2 separate regions of the Homo sapiens genome follow, and region 1 is linked to region 2. The links are contacts of gene promoters, found by promoter capture Hi-C in human tissues and cell types (Jung and others, 2019). All regions are on one chromosome and are shown on one strand. Each heading gives the region's core, a stretch centred on a gene start or on the middle of the fragment in contact. The rest is flanking DNA. Distances are from core to core; before and after follow the strand shown. Region 1 overlaps FHIP1B (FHF complex subunit HOOK interacting protein 1B). Region 2 holds the start of OR56B4 (olfactory receptor family 56 subfamily B member 4).

Region 1 (3,438 bases), core at 198-2,697, 110 kb after region 2:
AACAACTACTAAAAAAATGAAAGATAGTGAGTAAGAATCAAAGTTAGGATAAGACAAAAGGAAGAAACAACAGATAAAACCTCAAAAAGAAAATCAACTGTCTCTAAACATGAACAGGACAATATGAGGCCAATCATGGCCTAATTTCAGCATAATGAGGGAAAAAAAATACTTTTGGTATCTTTGTAAAATTAAAGCTTTAATACCTATTCCCTATTGGTTCCAATAAATCTTAACCCAAGGCATCTATCATGATTACTTTTTGGAAAATTTTAAAAATACACATGTCCTGAGCCTACTCCCAAAGATTCACGAAATCTGAGGTAGAGCTCAGAATCTGTTGTAGTTGTTAGTTGTCATCTTCAAAGATTCACAGACGTTTCTAAAGTATACACTTGGTTTAGAAACACTGGTTTAATCAGTCAGTCTGGAATATTTCTTATACACCCTAACTTAGCTTCAGAAACTGCACCTATACAAAACACAGCTATCCAGGAAACTGACCTGGAACTCTACTATCTAGTATCTCATTATCTAGAAGTTTTCCAGAGCTCTTAGTGATGAAAGAACTTCTATTTTAAACACATGGATCCAGGAAACTTTAACTTATAATAAAAAAAGGAAGCAAAAATGGTCCCAGAGGCAAAATAAATGCCATGAAGTCCATGGCAAAATTAATGCTTTATTCTCCTAGAGGGGCTTAAGTCTTTATAACTTGGAAACCACCCACTCCCATGTTATATATATTTCTATTTGTTAATATCCAAACTTCTTGCCATGGTCTTCCAGGTCATGCATGATCTGAATTTTACCCCTCTATTTTTATCTCATTCCCTTCTTCCCCTTGCTCACTACACCTCTAGTCTTTCATTTCCTCAAACATGTTAAGCTCTTCCCCCATTTGATGTCCTTTGCATGCTGTTCCCCTTGCTTTCCTGTTCTTCTACTTGATCAATAAGTTAACTCCTTTATAATCTCTATGTCTCAGTTCAATGTCATCTCTTCAGAGAGGTCTTCCTTGGCCACCCTATTATTTCTAAGCACTCTAGTTTTTTCATAACCCTGACCACAACTTATTAATGTGTTTGCTTGTCTGTCTTCTCTACAAAGTAAGCTCCATGAAGTCAGCAACAATGTCTACCTTATTTATCACTGTATCCCCAGCACCAGCAAACAGTATGGCACACAGTGAACATTCAGTAAAAATGTTTAGGAGGAAGGACCGAAAGTAGATAGGTGGGTGGATGAGTGCTCCAAGCTATAGTTCAAAAGCAGCAAATCCAAAGGAGAAAGAAGGCAAGCATATCAGTAGCACCTGGATCACCTACCAAAGCAGACACACAACCTAAAGTGCTCTCAAGTCACCCAAAGCAGGCCACAGAGTGATAAACAGTTTAAGAGAACTCAGGCCAATACTACATTACGAACACTGCACAGTAGCAAAACCTATAGTCATGATGAACAGCCAAAGTCATCCAGAAAAGGTGACTGTGTTCTAGATTCATCTATCATAAAAGCAGGGGAGTAGATTAAAATCTGTACCCAAAATGGTTAAAAGTTTAATGCTGGAAAGTTAATGCCACTTAATTTTGAGGTGACTGCTGGAGATACAGGCAAAAGAAGGGCAGGAATACCCTCCCAGAACAAAGGTCAGAGAAAGAAGATGGGTCATCCAGGTAAGCTAGGACAGGGGTAAGGGCCATACCCGGGAGTTACTGCCAATACGAGCAACGAGGGTGTCGAGGATGGTGTGGGTGTCATGCCGGTGCAACAACAGGAATCGCAGGAAGGTACGGAGCAAAGCAGGCTCTGAGATACTCCGTAGGAAAAGTTCCAGATAGGCGGTACTGGCGATCATCTCCTCCACAGAGGTCTGCACAAAAAGAAGGGAAAGTCTGGAAATGCACAGCTTCCCTGCACATACAGGGCCATTTTCCCTGGATTCTAAGAGAAATCAGGAGCAGACAGGGCAAAAGGGAGGAGTACTCTACCCACCGCCTCCTACGTTAGTCCTGTCACTGAGGTTACCACTGCAGCTTAGCCCCTTATATGCCTTGCCACCCATGACTCTCACCTTGTGCAAGGCAGGACCCATGACAGGCACCAGGAACCCATTATGGATATAATCAACCAACTGCTTCTGCACCAGGGGGTGAGCCACCTGTAGGAGTGCCAGAGAGAAGGGGGAGGGTTATGAGGAGACCACTGCCTGGAAGGGAGTAGAATAGTACACTACAGAGAGGCATCCTACTTCCAAGATGGAAAAATGACAGAACTCCAGGGAATATACCCCCTCCTACCTAATCTCCCAAAAATGACCAAGGGCCAGACTTTCAGTCCTACCTGAATTACTGCATTGCAGAACTCCAGGGAACTCATGAAGAGTGCAAGGGCTGGCACTCCCAGCCAGTCTTCCCGTCGCAGACAGTGCCAATCATCCCCTGGAACCTCAATCTTTCGAGGCAGTGATGAGTACAGGGCACTGAGCCCTGTGGCCAGCACCTATGAGAAGTTACCAAAAGCTCATATATAAAATACATTTATAAAATATAAAAACTGGAACAGGGGAGCTAGTAATCCAGAGTTTTGATGGGAATAGGGGTATAAGCTATTACCAAAGCAAGCATTTGCCTACCCAATGTGCCTGAAACTCACCTAGAATTCACAGGCCTACAAAGAGACTTAGTATCTGCCCTATCCATCTAAGCCCATGATTCATCCCCACTACAACTCCAGGGGGCTGCTTTCAAATCCAGGAACTGTTTCCTAGGGGAACGGGCCCTGGAACATAGCCTCTCCCCATCTCCTGGATAGGAAGGTGCTGTTCAGTATCTACACACCACACCCTACCCTCCAAGCCAGGGGGTGCTAACCGGGCAGAAGTAAGAGTGATCCGCGATGTAGCGGCCCACAGTGGGGCTCCCAGCTGACAAAGCCATGAGAAGAAGTAGGGCATCACGGGCCTGCTGGCCCAGGGTGCCCTCTCGATGCACAAAAGGGACAAGGCGAGAAAAGAGAAGAAGACGGGGAGCGGCTCCAGGCTCAGGAGGTGGCTGCAGGAAGAACTCGAGCAATGAAGGCTCCTGGGCCACACAAACACACAGCTGGCTGAGAAGTAGCACCAAGCCTTCATCCAGTGCTGGGCTACTGGGCACAGGGCGGCCACAGGCATCCAGCAGGGTGAGCAGAGCCTCACGAACTGGACCATGCCGCAACAGTGGCTGGCGAGCTTCGCTCACTAGCATTTCAAATAGTTTCAGTTGCTCAGCCCGCCGTTCCTCGACCCCATCCCCAAGCTCATCCCATTGCAGCTGCCATGTCAACACACGGGTCAGCAGATCCTCGTGCAGAGCAAACTCCAGCAGGGGCCCAGGGCCTGTGGGGGCCGAGGGAACTGCACGGTCCTCTGCCAGCAGTGTCAACATCTGGTAAGTGTGG
Region 2 (3,870 bases), core at 39-2,538:
TATCACATGTACCTCCAAAATATCTACAAATATGATATATCAATTCTAAAAATACAAAAAAAAATCATTAAACTATAGGGCATCTAGGTGGTAGAAAATAATGCAACTTAACTGCAGTATGGAAATATGGAGCAGTCTTCAAAATATTAAGTTAAAAAAGAAAAGGAAAGAAAAAAGGAGAAAGGTGTGCTAACAATTGATTATGTCTTTTATGAAAATTATATATATATATATATATATATATATATGTTTTTATCCATGCATAAACTATTAATGGAAGGATTCCCAAGAAACATATTACTGGCTGCCTCTAGTGAAAAGGAAAAAGATTTCAAAGCCCCAAGCATGAGAGTCTTACTTTTCATTGTTTATATTTTTCATTTTATTTTGATTTTTACCATGTATAGATAATATATCTTAAAATAAAATCAAAATTATATTTAAAATTTTAAGACTATTATATCCTTTGTATATATAATTTTTGCATCACTTTTGAAACTCTACTCAAGGAAAACAATATTAAAAGCAAAATACCTGTCAGTAAATTATAGAATAGCCAAATGCAAAAATTTAAAGCAGCAATTAAAATTAACATCACACTTTTTAAATAATATTGTGAAGTCTTTGGTTAATGTATTCATCCATGAAATAAAATTTTTGAGTGCTTATATTACATCTTAACACATACTGCTAAAAGACAAAAACAAGATACAAAATCATCTCTAGATAATGATGTAGACTGTTTAAAAATAAAATAGAAAATTGGAAATAAATCAAATACTAACATTTGTTATCTGTTAGTGATAAGACTGTTGTTAATATATGTGGACATGCTTATTAGACATACAAGTGGTGATGAAAAATAGTTATTCCAACTCTTCTGTTTAGAATTTTTTTGCTTTTTTTGTTATTCCTCTGTGGAATATTTCCAGAAGTCAAATAAAGTTGAGGGTCATTCATGAATAAAAGGAGCTGGTTCATTATTGAGGAGCTCTTACCAAGACACTTAACTTTTTGTTTTGTTTTGTTTTTTAAGACAGGGTCTCACTCTGTTGTCCAGGCTGGGGTGCAGTGGCACAATCTCGGCTCACGGCAACCTCCGCCTCCCAGGTTCAATGATTCTCATGCCTCAGCCTCCCAAGTAGCTGGGATTACAGACAGGCACCACCACACCCAGCTAATTTTTGTATTCTCCGCAGAGATGAGATTTTGCCATGTTAGCCAGGTCAGTCTCGAGCTCCTGACCTCAAATTATCTGCCTGTCTCAGCCTCCCAAAGTGCTGGGATTACAGGCATGAACCACGATGCTCAGCCCCTTAGCTGAACTTTTAAACAGAGATTTCTTCTATTTCAGACAGACACTGAGACTGAGGCACCCATTCCATGGATACCTCCACCAGTGTTACCTATGACTCCAGCCTCCAGATTTCCCAGTTCATCCTGATGGGATTACCAGGCATTCATGAGTGGCAGCACTGGCTCTCCCTGCCCCTGACTCTGCTCTACCTCTTAGCTCTTGGTGCCAATCTCCTCATCATAATCACCATTCAACATGAGACCGTGCTACATGAACCCATGTACCATTTGCTGGGCATATTAGCAGTGGTGGACATTGGCCTGGCCACCACCATCATGCCCAAGATCCTGGCCATCTTCTGGTTTGATGCCAAGGCCATTAGCCTCCCCATGTGTTTTGCTCAGATCTATGCCATCCACTGCTTCTTCTGCATAGAGTCAGGCATCTTTCTCTGCATGGCAGTAGACAGATACATAGCCATCTGTCGCCCTCTTCAGTACCCCTCCATAGTCACTAAAGCTTTTGTCTTCAAAGCCACAGGGTTCATCATGCTCAGGAATGGCCTGTTGACCATCCCAGTGCCTATACTGGCTGCCCAGAGACACTACTGTTCCAGGAATGAAATCGAGCACTGCCTCTGCTCTAACTTGGGGGTTATCAGCCTGGCTTGTGATGACATCACTGTGAACAAATTTTACCAACTGATGCTAGCATGGGTCTTGGTTGGGAGTGATATGGCTCTGGTATTTTCTTCCTATGCTGTAATCCTTCACTCTGTGCTGAGGCTGAACTCAGCAGAAGCAATGTCCAAGGCTCTGAGCACTTGTAGCTCCCACCTCATCCTCATCCTCTTCCACACAGGTATCATTGTGCTGTCTGTCACACACCTTGCAGAGAAAAAGATTCCCCTTATTCCTGTGTTCCTTAATGTGCTGCACAATGTCATCCCCCCTGCACTCAACCCCCTGGCCTGTGCACTCAGGATGCACAAACTCAGACTGGGCTTTCAGAGACTGCTTGGACTGGGTCAGGACGTGTCCAAGTAACTCCAGCTTTAGGAATCCAGTAAGATGTTAGGAAATGACAGAGGTTTTAGTTCTCAATAGATCAGGGTTATAATCTGCACTTACCACACTCCCTAGGAAAAAAATGGCCAATAAAATCATGAAAACTGTCAGCCTCACTAATCAAAATATGTATATTAAAATTACAAGAAAATTTCCTATTACCTGGAAAATAAGTAAGAACAAAAAAGTGAAATGTTTCTAACTATTACTGCTAGCCTACCCCGAGATTAACACTTTCCTACACAACTGGTAGGACTATAAACACACCAAAAAGCAATTTGGTAAAATTTATCAAAATGTTTATAAATGTTTAAATGTTCTTAACCAGTAATTCTATTTTAGAAAAATATCCAAAAGAAATAGTCTAAATGCAGTCAAAAAGTTATTCATAAAAATCATTATAATATGACTAATAATAGAAAACAAAGCCTTTAATATTTACACATATTTAACTCTTACATATTTATGTGCTTTTCATATGTAATTTTTATAATAAAAAGTAAACAATAAATGTTTATTAAAAAGGAGTAAAGTTTAATTTTCGTACCCAAAAAAATCTCAATAATTAATGAATTAATGGTTAACAAGTGTTAAATACTTCTTGTAGGCCAGAAACTTTGATAAAATATGTATGTAGATTATCTGACTCAATTCTCACAATAACCCTTTGGGCAGGTACAATATTATTCCCAATTTCCAGCTAAGAAAACTCAGGCACTGGAAATTATAGAACTTGCCCCCTGACAGCACAGTTTCTAAGTGGGAGAGCTGGGATTCAAGTCCTGGGAAGTCTGATTGAAAAACCATAGCACTATTCTTACTCTCAGTCTTGCTCTGTTCCAAAATTTCTGTGTGAACTTGAACAACTTATGAAACCTCCCTATGTTTCAATTCTTCTGATTAAAAGTGACAAAAATCATAACATTTTGCTGAGCCAAATCGCAAACATGCTGTGACAATCAAAAGAGATAAAGAATACATGCTTTGAAATAAGATATACACATGGAAATATAAATCTAACTATGTGGCAGTTTTCTTGCTAGGAAAGGAAGAAAATGGATCCTAGAAAATGCCCTATAAAAATAGTTTCAAATAACCTGTTAATTAAAGCTAACTGAATTTTTGCTGTTTGCTCACCTAAAAAAATTGCACACTTTTTGAGTACAAGAACCATTCATGTGTACTTTCAATGAGCCTCAGTCAGAACATTGCACACAGTAGGTGCTTAATTCATTATATAATCAGGGAGCATTATAGATCTGTTGAATTATGTGTATCAAAGAAAATACCTGGACCATGGTCTGAATAATGACCTCAGGAAGTTTGCACATGAGTCCACCTTGGAAAACAACTTCTTAGGAAATAGCACAAGGACTAAAGCAACATCAGAAACCATCAGCTCATCTCACCAGAGTAATGCATGCTGGGCAGCATAACAGAGCTGCAGGGGGAAGTCATCTGTGTGCGGGACAGGACTTCTTAAGAGTTATGCTTGGAAACTTACCC

Evidence for each region. Contacts are between HindIII fragments. The study calls those that stand out against the background at their distance.
Region 1: a fragment that was not itself captured here is called in contact with the fragment with the promoter of OR56B4 in region 2 in 3 of the 25 tissues and cell types used here (bladder, neural progenitor cells and thymus).

The regions. Positions count from the first base shown.
Region 1 is chr11:6,220,737-6,224,174 of GRCh38, forward strand. It overlaps FHIP1B (FHF complex subunit HOOK interacting protein 1B), which reads right to left. Exons shown (of 12, transcript NM_001098794.2): 3 at 2,874-3,438; 4 at 2,344-2,502; 5 at 2,075-2,161; 6 at 1,706-1,873. Among named protein-coding and RNA genes, the nearest start is that of FHIP1B, 12 kb to the right of the region's middle. The HindIII fragment of the contact is 7,709 bases long and covers 1-3,438 here.
Region 2 is chr11:6,106,396-6,110,265 of GRCh38, forward strand. It overlaps OR56B4 (olfactory receptor family 56 subfamily B member 4), which reads left to right and starts at 1,289. Exons shown (of 1, transcript NM_001005181.2): 1 at 1,289-2,440. The coding sequence starts at 1,384. The coding sequence ends at 2,343. It overlaps LOC124902622 (a long non-coding RNA gene), which reads right to left. Exons shown (of 3, transcript XR_007062565.1): 2 at 3,869-3,870. The HindIII fragment of the contact is 6,854 bases long and covers 1-3,846 here.